5 separate regions of the Homo sapiens genome follow, and regions 1, 2, 4 and 5 are each linked to region 3. Evidence: promoter capture Hi-C in 16 types of primary human blood cells and fetal thymus (Javierre and others, 2016). All regions are on one chromosome and are shown on one strand. Each heading gives the region's core, a stretch centred on a gene start or on the middle of the fragment in contact. The rest is flanking DNA. Distances are from core to core; before and after follow the strand shown. Region 1 overlaps NSL1 (NSL1 component of MIS12 kinetochore complex). Region 2 overlaps LINC01740 (long intergenic non-protein coding RNA 1740). Region 3 holds the start of INTS7 (integrator complex subunit 7). Region 4 holds the start of ANGEL2 (angel homolog 2). Region 5 overlaps ANGEL2 (angel homolog 2).

Evidence for each region. Contacts are between HindIII fragments. The CHiCAGO score rates a contact against its expected background, and 5 or more counts as called.
Region 1: a contact is called between a fragment that was not itself captured here and the fragment with the promoter of INTS7 in region 3, in 1 of 17 cell types (M1 macrophages). The highest score is 5.2, in M1 macrophages.
Region 2: a fragment that was not itself captured here is called in contact with the fragment with the promoter of INTS7 in region 3 in 8 of 17 cell types (naive CD4 T cells, naive CD8 T cells, total CD8 T cells and 5 more); the score reaches 8.1 in naive CD4 T cells.
Region 4: the fragment with the promoter of ANGEL2 here is called in contact with the fragment with the promoter of INTS7 in region 3 in 8 of 17 cell types (naive CD4 T cells, fetal thymus, total B cells and 5 more); the score reaches 8.4 in naive CD4 T cells.
Region 5: a contact is called between a fragment that was not itself captured here and the fragment with the promoter of INTS7 in region 3, in 1 of 17 cell types (total B cells). The highest score is 5.1, in total B cells.

What each region holds. Positions count from the first base shown.
Region 1 is chr1:212,753,674-212,757,439 of GRCh38, reverse strand. The region is part of intron 4 of NSL1 (NSL1 component of MIS12 kinetochore complex); the gene reads left to right. Among named protein-coding and RNA genes, the nearest start is that of NSL1, 36 kb to the left of the region's middle. The HindIII fragment of the contact is 970 bases long and covers 1,640-2,609 here.
Region 2 is chr1:212,552,850-212,556,811 of GRCh38, reverse strand. It overlaps LINC01740 (long intergenic non-protein coding RNA 1740), which reads right to left. Exons shown (of 3, transcript NR_125985.1): 2 at 2,364-2,400; 3 at 746-969. Among named protein-coding and RNA genes, the nearest start is that of LINC01740, 9.1 kb to the right of the region's middle. The HindIII fragment of the contact is 213 bases long and covers 1,323-1,535 here.
Region 3 is chr1:212,034,100-212,037,684 of GRCh38, reverse strand. INTS7 (integrator complex subunit 7) reads left to right here and starts at 2,128. Exons shown (of 20, transcript NM_015434.4): 1 at 2,128-2,341. The coding sequence starts at 2,248. It overlaps DTL (denticleless E3 ubiquitin protein ligase adapter), which reads right to left and starts at 1,937. Exons shown (of 15, transcript NM_016448.4): 1 at 1,743-1,937. The coding sequence starts at 1,794. RefSeq lists enhancers at 1,118-1,652, 1,668-1,907, 1,653-2,189, 2,068-2,277. The HindIII fragment of the contact is 8,834 bases long and covers 1-2,213 here.
Region 4 is chr1:213,013,511-213,017,325 of GRCh38, reverse strand. It overlaps ANGEL2 (angel homolog 2), which reads left to right and starts at 1,459. Exons shown (of 9, transcript NM_144567.5): 1 at 1,459-1,713. The coding sequence starts at 1,655. RefSeq lists enhancers at 1,424-1,733, 1,446-2,033, 2,034-2,622. The HindIII fragment of the contact is 5,816 bases long and covers 13-3,815 here.
Region 5 is chr1:212,994,133-212,997,870 of GRCh38, reverse strand. It overlaps ANGEL2 (angel homolog 2), which reads left to right. Exons shown (of 9, transcript NM_144567.5): 8 at 553-716; 9 at 2,679-3,738. The coding sequence ends at 2,830. Among named protein-coding and RNA genes, the nearest start is that of ANGEL2, 20 kb to the left of the region's middle. The HindIII fragment of the contact is 2,093 bases long and covers 441-2,533 here.

The DNA of each region.
Region 1 (3,766 bases), core at 875-3,374, 720 kb before region 3:
ATTCCTTTATAGTAATAAAACAGACTAACACCCTGGTCTCCTTCCATCCAGTTCTACTTTTCACACAGCATCCAAACAATTTCTTTTAAAGCATAATCAGATTATGTCACTCCCTGTTGAAGGCCCTCCAGTGGCTCCCCATTATAATTCCTTTGGTCTAAGAGGCCCTCAATGATATGGTCCCCGGCTGCTTCTCTGATCTCATCTCTGACAGTGTTCACTTACCATCTCACCCTCGCTTACTGTGCTCCACTAACACTAATATTCTTGCTATTTCAGGACATACCAAGAACACACTGGCCCTACGACTTTCATACTCGCAACTCCCTGTATTTGAAACTGCTCTCCGAAACTACCTGCCTGACTCTTGCACTTCATTCAGCTCTCTGTTCAAAGTGTCACTTCATCTGATACACCTTACAACCTGTGTCAGATTCTCTTATGACTCCCTTGATCATACTGTATCCCTTTAACCTGCTTTATTTTTCTCTGCCACTTACAGATATTATATAATTTCTCCTTATTTTCCTCTTCCCTCCCCACAGTATTGTAAGCTCCCTGTGAGCAAGAACTTTGGGATGCCCAGTTTTCCCTCTTTTTTCTTTTCTTTTCTTTTTTTTGAGACGGAGCCTTGCTCTGTCGCCCAGGCTGGAATGCAGTGGCACGCTCTCAGCTCACTGCAACCTCCACCTCCCAGGTTCAAGTGATTCTCCTGCCTCAGCCTCTAGACTAGCTGGGATTACAGGCACCCGCCATCACACCTGGCTAACTTTTGCATATTTAATAGAGACAAGGTTTCACCATATTGGCCAGGCTGGTTTCAAAGTCTTGAACTCGGGTGATCCTCCCACCTCGGCCTCCCAAAGTTCTGGGATTACAGGCATGAGCCACTGCGCCCAGCCCCTGACTCTTAAGATTATTTTCTGACATGGTACACTCAATAAATATTTATATTTTTGCAAACAATACATAATTTTATATAAATAGGATTGAATTACATATTACATTGTCCCTTTTAAAAACCAAAGTCGGCCGGATGCAGTGGCTCACACCTGTAAGCCCAGCACTTTGGGAAGCTGATCGCTTGAGCACAGGAGTTTGAGACCAGCTAGGGCAACATGGCAAAACCCCGTCTCTACAAAAAATACAAAAATTAGCCAAGCATGGTGGTGCATGCCTGTAGTTCCAGCTACTCGGGAAGCTGCAGAGGGAGGATCATTTGAACCCAGGAGGTCAAGGCTGCAGTGAGCTATGGTCCTGCCACTACACTCCAGCCTGAGTGACAGAGTGAGAACCTGTCTCAAAAAAACCCAACAAGGATAGCATTGTATTTTTACTTTTTGTTTTTGGTTTCTTCTCTCTCTTCCTGTCACCCCTTTAGATATCCAACATTAACCTGGTATGAATTCATTTATCCTTTTTTCTGTGCTTATATAATTGTTACAGGAATAAATATGCACTGGACATTTTGGGGGCATAATTTACAGAAAATTTATTCATGTGTTCAAATTATCTGCAATTTCCTAGCTTAAGTTTATGGTAGACATCCTCCATTCGACTGCCGTAGCTCTAACCTTATTGTTTTAAATTGTGGTTATCTTTTAAATTGTATTTCTTGTGCTTTTAATAAATGCAAGCTTAATGTAAAATTTTTAATAATTACATATAGATATATATGAAAATATATACATATTCATATTTATATGAAATATACCATAACTTCGCCTCCCAATCTGTCACATCCCACACATCTTCAAATAGGCAACTATTATCAGTTTGCTGTGTCTAATTTTAGATCTTTATCAATGCATTTGTATGCACATAGGTAGACACAGGGGTTTTTTTAGTTGTTTATATAAATATTACATAATGCATTTTATTCTGTCATTGTTTTTCTTTTTTCACTCAACATGTAACATAGTTCAACTCCATGGTTTTTATTGGTAATTTTTTTCTTGCTTATATACACAGAGACAATTTTATTTAAATAATATTATATATGTATTTTTGTTTTTTGTGAGAGATTATTTGGTTTTGCTAGATTCCTCTTTTCTCCCATCTTCCATTAACATCTCCATATATACTTTTATCTGAGGACTCCTATATTCTAGAAAATCTTTAACCTAATCCTTCAACTTTGCTTCTTTCTCATTTCTTCTATTTTTGTATTTTATGTTTTTATTTTATAACCTATTTTTCTTTTGCAATGTCTTATGATTTTCTTTAGCTATTGGAGCTGTGTAGCATTTTAAAGTCATTTTTATATTGCTCTATTTTCATTTCATCTGCAGTAAATTCCTCTCCCTGACATTGGTTATACTGGCTGTCTTTCATGGTTTTAATTTCTTCATGTATTTTAGACTTTTGATTTGCAAGTGCTTCTTGACTAGAATTTTTCATGTGCATATCTGTCTACCACTGCTTTCACTCCCTCTGTCTAGTAGGTTTGGTTGCCTTCCATCTGGCCCCAAACAATCCCAGGCTGGAGCCATATCTTAACACTGGCAACAGAGGGCCTCTGTCCCAGTGTGACACTGGAGATTGGTCCAGGCCCAGGCTTGGAGGCATTATCTGCTTCCCATCATTTCTGGTTTAGCTTTAAGTAAGCTTTGCTTCCTGGCAGCGGTTAGGAGCAGTTTTGTCTTTTGAGTTGGTTTTTTTTTTTTTTTTGAGACAGAATTTTACTCTTGTTGCCCAGGCTGGAATGTAATGGTTGCTCACTGCAACCTCTGCCTCCTGGGTTCAAGTGATTCTCCTGCCTCATCCTCCTGAGTAGCTGGGATTACAGGTGCCCACCACCACGCCCGGATAATTTTTGTATTTTTAGTAGAGGCGGGGTTTCACCATGTTGGCCAGGCTAGTCTCCAACTCCTGACCTCACGTGATCCACCCATCTCAGCCTCCTTAAGTGCTGGGATTACAGGTGTGAGCCACCGCGCCGGGCTGGTTAGTGGCAGTTTTTTTCAGCCACCTTTTCAGGGTGGGTAAACTCTGTCTCAGCCCTCGGTTTCAAACAGTGAAGCTGTCTCTTCGTTTCCTGTTCTTCTGGAGCACTTCGAACACCTTTTATCTTGCAGGAGGCCAATTCCTGGCTACTTCTGCTTACCGGTAGGCCTGCAGCTTTAGCCTGACTTGCAGCTTTTTCTCTTCTCCTTTTTTTCTGGTTCATTGAAATGTTTTATTTTGTATATGCTTTAGGATATGTCATTTTAATTTTCTATATTCACTGATGCTTTTGGACATAGGAAGGGAGTTTTATGCACTACTGAAATCAACTTGACTAGGAAGTCTTAGGATACTTTTAAAAATGCAAATCAGTTTTCAGTCCTCTGCTTAAAATCCTAAACTCTAGACTTTTAGCATTCCCTTAGGTGATCTGGCCCCTACCTACCTCTCCAGATTTATTTCAGGCACTTTCCTGTTTGCTGCCAGTCTTTCAGTTCTTTGAAAGTGCCTCACTGTCACACATGCATGCCCCCTTGCCCAAGTTTGACATCTTCCCAGTTCTCTTTTCTCATTTAAATGTTACCTCCTCAGAGAGATCTTACCTAACCACCCTCATTAAAATACTCTCCCCAGTTGTTTATCATGACACCTGTTTATTTCCTTAATAGTACTTGTTACAGCTTATAAGTATTTGTGTTTATTTTCTTGTTTATGCTCTCTCACAAAACTGAAAGCTCCATGAGTTTTTTAATATTATATTTACATTATATATAGCCAGCATATAGCAGCATGCCCAATAAATACATCATGAGTGACTGTT
Region 2 (3,962 bases), core at 180-2,679, 520 kb before region 3:
AATGTTTGACCAAAATATCTGGGCACCCCATAATCCAGTCAAGTTTGACACAGAATTAACCGTCACACTGACCTATCTGATTTCTAAAGATCTTGGCCTTAAAATTGTGACTTTGGTCTCTAAGGCAATTATGAGGGTGAGTTCTTTGTAAATGGTTTCTCGGATGTATTTGCTTCTATTGAAACCTTAGTAGAGAGGACCCGTCATTTAATTACCTCTTCCTATGTTCTTGATAGTCTTTATTTTTAAAATCTAGTTCAGTTGAATATAATAATTTCTTTCACCTTTTTTAGAAGCTGAGCTACAGTTATGTTTTAGGAAGCTAGTTGATCTATCCAGTAATCTATCAAGTAATGTTGATCTGTCAAGCAAGTTAATCTATCAAGTAATGAAGCTAGCTGGTATTAAATAATTCTTTGTTTTTAACTATTAAATACAGGGCTTTGGGTATGTAATATAAGCAGCATTATGGTAATATTCTGGAAGTTTCAATTATTGCAATGATTGAGAGCATTAGAGTGTTATTTTCTGTTTGAGATATTTTTTAAGATAGTGTTGCTTCAGGAACATTGTAGTCATAATATTTTGCAGTCTAAATCCTTATTTTAAAAAATCTCATAACTTTTTATATCCTATTTAAAAGTATTGATATTGATATATTGGATTGGATTATTAGCTTTATAAATAAATACAATCACTGGACCTCTGTCAGTCCCAAAAACAAAACTTGTTTTGCACCTAAATTGTTTATTTTATTTTATTTTATTTTTAGCTGAGTAGTTAAGATTTCAGGCCTTTTTAAAAAGTCATGTGTTTAGGTATAATTTACATGCAGTAAAATTCACCCTTTTAGGTATAAAGTTCTGGAATTTTGACAAACATAGTCATGTAATCATTACCACAATCAAGACAAAACATTTCCATCACCCCAGGAAGTTCCCTTGTGCTCCTTTGCAGTCAATCCCATTCCTGAAAATAAAATTTTAAATAAAATTAATAAAACTTTCTAAAAACATGTCTGATTCATGCCACTGTCTGTCACCATCATAAATGGACTTACTTGGTCTCAATATGGAATTCACAAGTTATCACATCAGTCGAATAATTATGTTCTTGCTGATTTAGTCAAAGTGAGATCATTCAGTGCTCAATGGATGGCTGCATACTAACATTTAAGACTTGAGAGGATACAGCACAGCAGGGGACTATCATGATGACTGTTAGATAGGATTTGGTATTTAGGATAACACCAAAAAATGAAGCGTATTCCTTAACAGGAGCCCTGAGGGACCAAATTGATCCAAATCAAACAAGTCAAAGCTTAGGTAAGTAATATAGGCAGCTTAACAGTATTTGAGTCCATTTGGCCATAATCCTTATTCAAAGTGTGATGGAAATTAAGGACCACAGCTTGCTATAGAATGATCTGATTTAAATAAGTATCCAATTTTGTCATTAACTTGATAACACAAGCCTTAGTAACCTGGAGACCCACTAGAAGAACATAGATTAGAAAACCCTGGAAAAGCCAAGCTTGCCATCCACCACTCAGGATTCCTGCAAACCAACTGTTAGCTGCTGCCATGGACACAGCATGTGTTCCTTTCCCTTAAGAAATTTCCTTCATGTATTTGATGGCAGTGTCTAAAGAAACAGCAGTTTCACCTTTGTTTTTAGTTAAGCTTCCTCTAGTAACAAAATTAGGGGACAGACAGGCACAATATTCAGTTTTGTCAATACTATATACAAGCCTCCAATTTGGGCGAAAAGAAGCTCTAAGTCCACATGATGTTCCAGTAAATGTTTTTTCTTAAAACATATGCTGTCTGGGCGCAGTGGCTCATGCCTGTAATCCCAGCATTTTGGGAGGCCAAGGCGGGTGGATCACGAGGTCAGGACTTCAAGACCAGCCTGGCCGAAATGATGAAACCCCGTCTCTACTAAAAATACAAAAATTAGCCGGGCGTGATGGCACGCGCCTGTAATCCCAGCTAGTCGGGAGGCTGAGGCAGAGAATTGCTTAAACCCAGGAGGCAGAGGTTGCAGTGAGCCGAGATTGCCCCACTGTACTCCAGCCTGGGTGACTCCATCTCAGAAAAAAAAAAAAAAAGTATATATGCCATCATCCACCTTTCTCAAAGGATGACTTCTGCCCGTTTGAACCTCTGGGAGTTCTGGTTAGCCACAAAGTCCAGGATTTTTCCCCAATTTATGGATTGGTTTCAAATTCCATATGACTGATACACTACTACTGCCAAGAGTGAGCCCTCAAGAACCCCATTGGAATCATTCCTCAGTGGAAACTAGCTTATCTTCATAAGCCTAACAGTTGCTCTGGTTTTTTGCTAGAGCATAAGCCTTACCTAAAGCCATCCATAGATTATGGTTCCATGGATTTTCCTGCAAGGAAAAGGAAGTAATTAGGACATAAGGAAACAGGGGAGAAAGAAAAAAGATAGACCACAGTAAACAATTGCCAGCTGAGAATAACAAGACTTCAAATGTTCATAGTTAAAGATCTGATGAGAGTTCATTACGATGATAACACAATTGAGAAGGGAATTTGGTTATTTCTGTTGCATGCAACATTTTAAGATAGTAACCAGAATTATGACTGATAATGTTATTCCAGAACTATCAAATTTCTATGAATTTCACACAATTTCTGAAATATGTTAATAACACATTCATACAAATATAATCCAAAGAAGGTTTAGCCTTACTTCTTATTTGGCAATGCTTCCCGTATAATTTAATATACCAAGTAAGCCCAATTAGCTTAATATTTCTCTTTTCATAAGGAGAAAATCAACTTACAAAAGGCAGATTAATGGGAGAAAAAGCATACAAACTTATTAGCATGCATAGGGGAACTATCATAGAGTGATTACGCCACCATGCAATGGGACACAGATGCTTGTATATACCCTTCTTCTTAGGAGAAAGGGAGATGGGGAAGTGTGGATGATTTTAGGGTAGTAGTAAATGAATTTTGGGGAATTCAGTAGGCGTGAGGAACATACAATGGCCTGAGACAAAGTCTGTTGGGCCCGCAGAGCAGACAATGGTTTGTGACAAAAGTCTGTCCAAATTTGTTGACAAACTTCAGTTTTTCTTCCTGTGATATGAGTTCAGTTACTGAAAACTCAGGGAAGGGACCACAGGTAATTGTTTTCTTCTTTGGTGGACCCAAACTTTAGGCAGATCAGGGAACTTCAGAGAACAGATTGGCCTTGTGCTCTGGGAGAGAGTGCGGAGAGGGGTGGGGCATGCCAGAGAGACCTTGAGAGGCTTCATCTGAAGTTCAGCATGTTAAAGTGCCATACTTTAGGGTGTTGGTTTCTGAACCCCAGCACCATTGAAGGAGTTCAGGAAATGCCACCCCAAAATATGTATATTGGTATATATATTTTTTTGTATATTGATTACTTTGAGCTAAAGGCACTTGAAAAATTTCAAAATGGAGAGGTTCTCTGAGTTTCCCTCCATATGCCTAAAGACACATCCTGCAAGATGAAGTCAATTGTTACCAAACCTCTGATGATTAACTCTTATCACAGGAGAGGAGGCCAGAAGTCCACCACACCCAGACCTTGTCACAAACCATCATCTATTCATCTAAGGACTCATTCATCTTTCCCCAAAACCATTGACTCTGAAGATCTTTCTTTTCTTTACCCGCTGGTCATTTTACCCATTCCGGTAGTGGACTTGAGTCAAGGGACCCTTGCCCTTTTCTTTCTTTCTTTCTTTCTTTTGAAACTGTTTTGCTCTTGTCACCCAGGCTGGAGTGCAATGGCATGATCTTGGCTCACTGCAACCTCCGCCTCCCAGGTTCAAGGGATTCTCCTGCCTCAGCCTTCCAAACAGCTGGGATTACAGGCACCTGCCTCAGCCTTCCAAACAGCTGGGATTACAGGCACCTGCCACCATGCCTGGCTAACTTTTGTATTTTTAGTATA
Region 3 (3,585 bases), core at 879-3,378:
AATATATGTATAGCACACAATTATTTCAACATTTAATATTAAAAGTACTTTGAGTCTTTCTTTAGAAGTTCGGTGGTGTTTGTGTGACCAAAATATGCCACTGAAACAATTCTTATTTATATCAAGTAGCCTATGGTAGAGTTAGTTTAGTTATACACTGTTTTCCCTAAAGTCACAGTTTCCAAGAGCCTATCTAGACATTAAGTGAGGACTTACTATATAAGTAACAGAAGGTTGTATGTATGTAGAAGTGGAAGAAGCCCTGGTTGTGGCTGTGATCATCCAAAGGAGTAGGTAGAAGAAGAAAAGGGGTCAAGGATGGAACACCAACACTGAAGAGGAAAGGAGATGATTCTATAGATTTCATATAATAACGAATGAATTTCAGTGACTATTATGTAACAACGAATGAGTACTTGAGAATAGGAAAGAGGGAAGGGAAAGGTAAACACATGGAGAATTAGGAGAAAATCTGTCACAAAATAGAGGCTGAACAGCTCCCCCAGAACACACATATAGTAAGGTGTGGAAGTATAATAAAACCCAGGCAGTTTAACTTCAAAGACAGAGTTCTTAGCCACTGTGCGTACTGTCACTCTTAAACAGAGGACAAAGAAGTTACTCAAACAAGGTCCCAGGAGAGACAGAAAGAGGAGCATTTAAGTATAATTACAAAGATTATCTAAGAGGGAAATAAATAAGGATGGTATAAAGTTTCAGACTGCTAGCAGGAAGTTGAGGGACTACTTCTCAGTCTCTTTCTCAATATTATTTTCCTAGACTCATCGCTGAATATAAAAATTCCCTTCTCAGGTTCGTTTTCCACATAGTTTCAAGGGGAAAAAGAACCTCTGGCTATAGTCGACCTTCACATGAGTGAGATTTTATTTCTGTCCAAGGTTAATCTGGGTAGTTAGCTCCCTTATCTGAAACTTACCAAAAAGTTTAAGTTGATGACATCCAAATCTAACCTCAAATCTCTTATTGCCAATGTTTTAGCGTAAGAAAATAAGTTAGATTTCTACGTATTAACATGGGAATACGTTCAACTTATACCATTAAAGTGAAAAAACTGGACGTTTTGATCCGATTTCTGAAAATAATAGGTATTACCTCTAGCGTCGAAAACATCTGGAATAATATACTTCAATCTATTAACAGGGGTCATCTCTGGCGGATGTGGTTACAGGCATCTTTCACTCTATAATTTAAATTTTTATGACCGTGTAGTAAACGGGGAAAATAAGATTTTGTTCCTGTTAGAAGCAGATATCCTGTCTTCTCTGCTTGACTGAGTTCCTTAACAGCGGGTCATATTCACTGGTATATACCTATAGCACATAGCTGGGCTCACTAAGATTCTACAACAAACGAATGAATTAATCAATGATTAGGAGTTTTGAGCATCTCAAATAACCGTTGAAGGAAACATATACACACAAATGCATGCATTTTCCCGTTAACGCGCAATGGAGATGTAAGCTGTAAGGGGCCTTGGAAGGCAGTTATTTCGACGTCCCTGCCTACGTTACGATTTTAAAAGCCCGATTACGATTACAAGTGTCCCGAGGGGATGAAAGTACAGCTTTCTTTAGTAGTCCCTGCTAACACTAATTTACCCTTGCCATGGGAGAACTCAGAAGCTGAGTTCAGAATTGGAGTCGGCCCTGGTCGGAGGTGGCGTGTGTTTCGGGGGAAATGAATTCCGCCAGCTCCGAGCAGCGGTTGGGACCGTTACTCACCATTTCTCAGGACGCCAAGCTGGGGCTGGCGGAGCACCGAATTGAAGAGCATCAGGGTCGGAGGAAAAGCCTCAGCTGAGAGAAAAGTCGTAGAAATGCCTCCAAGTTCAGCAGAAATCGCAGCTTGCGCCTCTCACAACACAAATCGTTATCGCCTCCAACTCCCGCCACTGTAAGCCCCGGCCGCCAAACTCCGCGCCAAACTGACGTCACGCTCTCTGATTGGCTTCCGAGCGACGTCCGGGCGCCTCAGAGTCATTTCCCCCTTCGGATCCCCGCCTCCTTTTCTCCCAGCCGCGGGAACCTGGAGTCCAAGAGCTCCTTGAGCGCCTGCGCAGGGGGTAGCAGAGGCGCGGACAAACCGCGGGGTGACCAGGGCGCATGCGTAACAGGGCTTGACAGCGCGCGGAAGAAAAACCAGCAAGAAGGCGGCGGGGGAAGATGGCGGTCCTGGGGTAGAGTTTGCAAGCTTTCTGACTAGGCTAGTCGAGTAACTATTCGGGTCATGGCGTCAAACTCAACTAAGTCTTTCCTGGCAGATGCCGGCTATGGCGAACAGGAACTGGATGCCAACTCTGCCCTTATGGAATTGGACAAAGGTATTCGAAAGAGAGGGCTGAATGGGTGAAACAGGCGTGGGGGGAAGTGGCGCCACCAGGTGGTGGTTGCTTTGGGAGAAGACGGATAGGCGCATGCGCATGTCTTCGCTGGGCGGGGAGCGCCTGTGCTTTTGCTGGGGCGTGGGCTTTGACCCCTTCGGGAGGTTGCGGGAAATTTGCAGGATTGTGTGACTGGCCTTATACCGGCTAAACAAGTAGCGAGCTCTAGTGAGAGGCCCGTTTTGACCACTTGAGGGAGCAGTCCCCCGATTTTCTAAGCAGTGACAGTGGCTAGTTTCTAAGAGACACTGCAAAGAAATTGTGAAATTGGTTTTCAGTCTGTTCAGTTGAGACCAGGTCTTCATGAAATGTGCTGAATAGTAATCTTGCACCGACTTGACAGCGATTCATTTGATTTCCATAGCTCTGTTACCTGCGGGTTACAAGGCAGGCTAAACCTGGCCAAGACCATAAAAAAGCAAGGGCCCTGCTCATTCTCTGCGGACAAGTTCCAGGAGTTCTGTTGCCGTACAGGGAGCAGCTTGGTGTAGAGGGAGCTTTGGGGTTACACTGAGTTAAGTTTCAATGCCGCTGATTTTATGATTAACTTCATCTAGCCTCGGCTTGTCGTCTGCAAAGTGGGTACAGTACCATTGAGCCGGCAGAATTGTATTAAGTGACTTAATGGTATGCAAAAGAAGCATTTAGTAAATGCTGAAGAGATATACCTCCCTTCTTAGATGTGGATATGGGAGGCAAGGTCGGAAATTTGTTAGTAAAGAACTCGACTAGTAATATGAAACCTTTATTTCATATTGAGGATTTTTATTGTACGGGAAACATTTCGGCAGCTGGTATACAATTAAATCTTGATTAATCGTAGCCAATATATAATGTTGGAGAACTGGACTAGAACTCAGAAGGGTTTGAGCCACTTCCCAGTTTTCTGAGTTGGACATGTCTATTAACTTTTTTGGGACTCTTTTTCTGTTTATTTTTTAAACTGTGAATATTTTTAGTGGGTTAGTCTAAATAAGAGTTTCTCAGGCTCTTAAAAAAGCTTTTACCTTATTTTGATAAACACAAAAATTTCACAGCCCCCTAATGGGATATTCCTTTGGTTGAGTCTCAGTATCTTTAGTGCACCCCCATCAACCAAGAAAATTATGTTGAACTTTTCCTTCTCTTACCAAATCTTTAGGGGTTTTCTCCTCTGAAAAAAAAAAGTATAATACTAAATGTGT
Region 4 (3,815 bases), core at 210-2,709, 980 kb before region 3:
GTTAGATAAGCTTTGTTGAGGTATGAATTATAGTGCTGTTGACTGAGTTCAATGTTAATGAATCAACAATATATATTAAATAAGATGTCTTTAAGCGGAAACACACATACAACAAAACTATGTATTGATTAAGTTGATGAAAATGCGACCAGAGGCTTACAGGATCCTAATCCTGTATTTCCCTTAGGAGTAATGATTCAGTATTTACTAATTCAGTGTTTCCAGCAACTTTACAGAACCTAACTACTGCAAATAACAAGAATCAATTACATACTGAGGGAAAGGTTTTTTTCAAATACACTTTACTTCCTTTTATGCACCAGGGATAAGAAAAGCCTTCCCAAGAAATTACCACTGTTTCAAAGAGCCTATAAAAGCAGTGCTCCTGCCTTCTAGTATCCTTTTCCCCTCTACTCTCCACACTTTATTCTTTCTCGGTTTCTCTCTTCCTGTTTCTTGCAGGGTCTCCACTTAAATAATGTCTTTCAACAATCTACAGTCCTATAATACATTTAATAAAGGTGGACACACAAGACATACAAGTACTTTTTTTTTTTTTTTTTTTTTTTTTGAGACGGAGTCTCGCTCTGTCGCCCAGGCTGGAGTGCAGTGGCTCGATCTCTGCTCACTGCAAGCTCTGCCTCCCAGGTTCACGCCATTCTCCTGCCTCAGGCTCCCGAGTAGCTGGGACCACAGGCGCCCGCCACCACGCCCGGCTAATTCTTTGTATGTTTAGTAGAGACGGGGTTTCACCGTGTTAGCCAGGATGGTCTCGATCTCCTGACCTCGTGATCCGCCCGCCTTGGCCTCCCAGAGTGCTGGGATTACAGGCGTGAGCCACCGCGCCCGGCCCATACACGTACATTTTAAAGTGAGAGCTATGGCTGTGCTTCCGCAACATTAATTGCAAAATTCTGTGGTACCTCAGTTCCATGGGCACCCAGAGGATGCGTTGTTCAGCCTCAGCTGGGAATCTGCACTTTGGGCAATTAAAAATTTTCACTGCTCTGTTTATTTCTGCCGGGCGCGGTAGCTCACTCCTGTAATCCCAGCACTTTGGGAGGCCGAGGCGGGCGAATCACTTGAGGTCAGGAGTTCGAAACCAGCCTGGCCAACATGGTGCAACCCTGTCTCTACTAAAAATTCAAAAATTAGCCGGGTGTGGTGGCTCATGCCTGTAATCCCAGCTACTTGGCAGGCTGAGGCAGGAGAATCGCTTGAACCCGGGAGGTGGAGGTTGCAGTGAGCCGAGATCGTGCCATTGCACTACAGCCTGGGCGACAAGAGCGAAACTCCATCTCAAAAAAAAAAAAAGAAAGAAAGAAAGAAAAAGAAAAAAAAGAAAGTTTATTTCTGTTTCTTTAAGACGAAGTTCGGGTGTTTTGCCCTCTTCAGAAATGGTTGCACGCGCGTCCCACGCTCTGCGCATGCTCCTTGAGCAGAATTCCGGGTTAAGGCATTCAGGGACTCTGACTGCGCAAGATGGAGTGTAGGCCGGCCGGCGAGACTGCACCTCCCAGCATGCCTTGCAGCCAGGACTGGAGTCGGTACTTAAGAGTGATGGGGTTCCCTAGATACTTTAGGCCGTCGCATCGATTATAGAGATTGAGGTGGAACCCGGGGCCTGGGAACTGGACGCACGCGGAGGGCGAAGATGGAAGCCTGGCGCTGTGTGAGGAAGGGCTACGGCCACTGTGTGGTGGGAAGAGGCCGGTCAGTAGGGCTGGGTACTCGGAGGGAGGAGAGAGGGGCGGGCGGCCTGAAAGAGCGGGCGGGCGTCCGGGACTAACCCGGGGCGGGGCGGGGCGGGCTAGGGGTGGAAGGAAGAGGAAGAGGGTCTGGGCGATGGTGCATCCGGGACGAGCCTCCAGAGACCAAGCGGGATAGGTAAACCCGCCGCGCAGCTGGCGGGACGCTGGGCCAACGAGGTCTGGGGTCTTGGCGCGGAGTTCATGGGCCGCCGGCCAGGCTTGTGCCAGTGGCTTTGGATCCCTGGCCTGCTTCCCCCAACCCAGCCTCCAGACCAGCGCTGGCCTGCTCCACACACTCCGCAGCACCGTCCCGGGAACCGAGCGTCGGCGGGGAGGCCGCCTCTCCGCAGTAGGTCTCGGCGGGCCTGATCCCTTGGAGGCGCGTGTGTGGCACACGCCCAGGAGGGGCTTGATTTTTGTTGATGTGTTAGTGTCTTTCAAACTTTAGTCACTTGTATGTCATCCCTTACTGTTATGGCCAAGTTCTTGTTTCACGTGTATTATTTACTGGATATTTTTCTTTAAATTGACTCAGTTTTTTTTAAAAAGCACTTCAGTAGGTGCTGCCCACATTAGCTTCACCCTAAGCAGTGTCTGCAGAGTCTTGGATTTGATGTGCGATTATGTTTTTTCCTAATAAACTAACATAAGTATTTAGAAATTACAATCAAGTAATTTAACTGTGTACTCTGTGAAACCGACTCGTGTACCACCCACCACGCTTGGGAAACACAGCATGTATTATTACATAAGCGATGGGGATTTGGTTGTAACTCCCATAGGCCTGGGACTTGATGGTAATTCAGTTCAACAATGTTTCCTGAGTACCAGCTGTTTGCCAGGCACTGTGCTAGGCACTTGTGAAGATAACGGAATTAAAATGAATAAGACGGTTCTGTTCTGGCCCTGAAGGAGCTTAACATCTTAAGAGAAAAAAAAGTCTGAATAAATAACTGCAAATATAGATAATAGCTTTTGTAGTACAAGTATTATATTTCAATACAGTGGCTTATTAGCATAGAAAATGCATGGACCAAGTGCCCAAATTCCTATGGCTTTCAGAGTTATCACAAAGCAGTGTAGAATGCCCATGTTATGCCTTTAAAGATTTACAATTAAGTAGATTTTAGAGAACAACTAGCGAATACTTAAACTGTAAAAATTATAATAAAAATTTAAATGCTGTTAAAACGAGAATAACAGCGTATAAAGTTAAATAACAGTAAACGCAACTTAAACAAAATTCCCTTAGGGATGGGAGCGCACATTATTGATGCTGTGGTAGAAATGTAGCTGTTAAGAATTTTGGAGGAAAGGATAAAAGTCCTTCTCTGAATCTTAACATTTTGCCAAAGTAGTATAGTGAGAGGAACATGGTGCTTTATTAAGCTGAAGTGTTTCTTGAGAGCCTGAGAGCAACATACCTATTAAAAATGTTAGCGCCACTTTGGAGATGTTTTGGATGATGGGTTAAATTGAAGCTGTTGGTTTGGAGTGTTGGTGCATTCGTAGTACGTCATCCCCATCCTCTTTCATTTCCCCCAACGAGAATCATGCTTAAAAAAGAATGGAGAAATAAATTATCCACCCGTTGATTAGTAAGAGAAGTAGTTTTGTGAATTTATGAAGTTGTGGATAGGCTTTTGTTTTCCTAACTATACAAGTGTTTGGAAAAATCTGCCCTTGGTATAAAAAACTGTTCAGAAACTTGTTATTACTCCAAGTTGGAGGAGAGGTTTACTTTAATTGTAGTGTGATATGAGTTCCTTATTCGATTTCAGTATAATACTTGTTGTGTATTTTATTTTCTCATTGAGTTTTGTAGGTGCTTGAAAGCTACTCTGAATATCATTTTGATAGTTGATTCATCTCTCAGTTGAACTATGTACATTTTCAGGGGTATGTGGTATTTTGGGAGCCTGGGAGGCATTCTGTGTTAAGTATTCAGAATACCATTCATGGTTTTTTAGGACGAGAGTATTGAGATATTGATGCCAATAGGTAAATCATGGGTGCTTTCCTCTTCATCCTTCACAGATTTAGCAGCCAGATTTTAAATATTAG
Region 5 (3,738 bases), core at 238-2,737, 960 kb before region 3:
CCTTAAGATTCATAAAGTATCACTAGAAAATAGTCTTTAAACCTTTTACTCATAACATCACATATATTTGTGCATGGGGCAAATATAATAAACCATTAGAGAAGCTGTTTTAAGATGCAGTACAAAATTATATGTGATAGCAAGAAAAATTAGAGAAGAATATGGCCTCTCTGTCATCAAAAGTCTAGAGGATTCCAAATAGTGTTCCTGAAGACCCCCTTGATTCTCTTTCTTAAAAACACAATAAAACTTGTTAGAATACATGTTCTTTAGTAAGTGGAGGCATTCACACGTTATAAATAATGAAAAAACACATTAGTATGTTAATTATTGAGCTTTTTTTAAAAACCACATTTATAATGGCTTTATTGATGGGTTTTAGATATCACTGCATAAGTAAATTAATACTAAATTATGATATGGTCTTTTTAAATAAAGCTTGTCCTAATGTTTGGTCTTAGTCTAGAAATTAAGTGAAAAAGAAATTCAGATAGGAGGAATTCTTGAAGTTACAAAAACTCGGATTCTAAACACTTCTTCTTTTCTATTTAGATTGTCTTCAAATTTACAGCACCATTTCAGTTTGTCATCTGTTTATTCACATTACTTTCCTGACACTGGAATTCCAGAAGTGACCACCTGTCATTCCCGAAGTGCCATAACTGTGGATTATATTTTCTACTCTGCAGAAAAGGAAGATGTTGCTGGGCACCCAGGTAAGGAATGCATGTAATCTTAAATTCTCCTAGAGAGCACAGTAGCTAAAACCTCAAGGTTAAAGTTAAGAAAGCTCTCTAAACATCCAGTTGAAGTTCTAGATCTAGAAGGTAAAAATATTTCGAAATAGACAGATTGGTAATATATTTGAATAAATCAGTTGATTACTTGCATATGAGGGAGGCAATAAAACACATCCAAGCAAATTATTACCCAAGAATTACATTAGCAGTCCTACCCTCCAGTTCCAGTCAGCCTCTGAGTTATAGGTCTTTCATATTGCCCTTTCTTTTTGCTTGCCATAAATTTACTGTTTTTCCTGTGACAGGAACTGAGTATGTTGTTAATGGTCATCATAGTTTTGTGCTTAAATTTTACCGAGGCGTCCTGCCTTCATTGGAGGACCATAGTTACACTGCCAGCAACACAGCTTATGCTGTCATGTTGACTCTGGAATATTGGATTTTTCTGAGGAGGAAAAGTATATATATATATATATATATATATATATATTTTTTTTTTTTTTTTTTGGATACAGAGTCTCGCTCTGTTACCCAGGCTAGAGTGCAGTGGCATGATTCTCGGCTTACTGCAACCTCTGTCTCCCGGGTTCAAGTGACCTTCCCACCTCAGCTTCCCGAGTAGCTAAGACTACAGGCATGAGCCACCATGCCCACCTAATTTTTGTATTTTTTGTAGAGACAGGGTTTCACCGTGTTGCCCAGGCTGGTCTCAAACTCCTGGGCTCAAGCCGTCCACCTCGGCCTCCCAGGGTGGCTTGGATTACAGGCATGAGCCACCACATTCGGTCAGAAAAGTCTATATAATTTTTTTGTTTGTTTGTTTTTGAGACGGAGTCTCGCTCGTCGCCCAGGCTGGAGTGCAGTGGCGCTATCTCAGCTCACTGCAAGCTCCGCCTCCCAGGTTCACACCATTCTCCTGCCTCAGCCTCCCGAGCCACTGGGACTACAGGCGCCCGCCACCATGCCCGGCTAATTTTTTGTATTTTTAGTAGAGACGGGATTTCACCGTGTTGGCCAGGATGGTCTCGATCTCCTGACCTCATGATCTGCCTGCCTCGGCCTCCCAAAGTGCTGGGATTACAGGCGTGAGCCACTGTGCCCGGCCGAAAATCAGGTTTTAAACATTAGCCAAAGGATTTAAAGTGGAGAAGAAAATGCAGTTTAAGATTACTGGAAGTACAAAAATACCTTTAAGAAAACTTTGGAATGTGAGCAGCTGTTTTATTCTTTTCTGATTTTTTTCATTTTTTTCTCTTCCATTTTTTTGGATGCTTCTTTTTCTTTACCCTTTTCCCCTCTGTTTGTTCCCCCCTCCTTTCTTCTGGGAATAACCTTATTAGTAACACTCACGAGATGACTTATTCCTGCCACTAGATCTACTCTACAAAAAATATGCCTGCTGCTTTGAATTTATAGTAAGGTTTTCGTAGTTGTCATGCTGACAGAAGTTCACTTGGTGGCAGGAGAGTGTTATGGATCAGCATTTCAAAAAGAGCATGTCATCTTCACTTCTGTGGGTGCTGACTATCTGGGACTAAATTATACTAATTTATTCTCCATTCACCTTATAAACTGCTACAGGGCTGTGGCCCGGTGTCTCTGGCTTTATGCAACTACAGAATGGTTGCTGGATGAGTTTCTTATGTAGTTGTCAACCACAAATTACCCTTAACATTCTTAAGTATTTCATTTATATTTTCTTCTAAAGATTGTTTACAGAGCTGGAAATAGAAAAAATATCTCAAACTGCTGTGTGTTTGATAATTATAATTAGGTTATAATTCAATAAAGCTTAGATATTCTAAAAACTGTGTCATAGTTTTTAGTCTTCTGGAGGGGCCTCAAGTTCTATATTTGTTTGGAGAAAAGACTTGTATGATTAATTTACAATAACCCGTTGACAATTTTACTAAATATGTGTGTGCTTCTTTAATGTAGGAGCTGAAGTTGCTTTGGTTGGTGGCTTGAAACTTCTAGCTAGACTGTCACTTCTTACAGAACAAGACTTATGGACTGTTAATGGACTTCCAAACGAAAATAACTCTTCAGATCATCTGCCTTTATTGGCAAAGTTCAGACTTGAGCTCTGACTCTCTTTGATCACATACTAATTTTCTTTCCAATTTGTATTGTTTTTCAAAGAATGTAAAGTTCTTAAGTGTATGCATGTTGTTTATTTTTGCACTGTGGAGATTCTGAAGCGGTTATGTTAGATGCTTTGAAACTCCATATCAGAAGAAATAACTTTATAACAATTTTTTTTAATAATGAAAAATATTTTCGTGACAAGTGAGCTCTAAATTCTCTTTATTGTAAAAGAGATGTAAAGGTTTTATATTCTAAATCCTAGTAAAATTGACAGTGATTTTTAAATATAATGCATCTTCCTTTGTCTGCTTAGTAAAAAATTTCATTTCATAATTTTGGCAAGCTCTGTAGTGGATCCAAAGTATCTTTGAGTTCTTGCAAACTACAAGTTGTTTCCTTTCCAGAAGGCTTGATTTCATTAGGAGACCCCTCTATTGAGTTCTAAATAGTTTATCTTAGAAAGCCTTGGGTCATTCACAGGTATCCAACCAGCCATTGTTTAGTTTGTTTTTGAAGGGGTTTGATAATGCTTTTTAAGTTGTACAGAATGCTTAATCCATCTTATTACTGTCCTGAGCCATGTAATATGCCTGCATCGTGTTGGGGAAATGTTTGGGAAATATAAGCCAGCATAACGTGTAAAGCTCACTCTTTCACCCTGGAACAGACAAGAGGTGGGCTTAATAGAGGCAGAGACTGGGGATATACCTTTGTTTCCCTAGCATTTTTATTTATTTATTTTTATTTTATTTTATTTTTTGAGATGGAGTTTCACTCTTGTTGCCCAGGCTGGGGGTGCAATGGCGCAATCTTTGCTCACTGCAACCCCTGCCTCCCGGGCTCAAGCGATTCTCCTGCCTCAGCCTCTCGAGTAGCTGGGATTACAGGCATGCGTCACCACTCCCAGCTA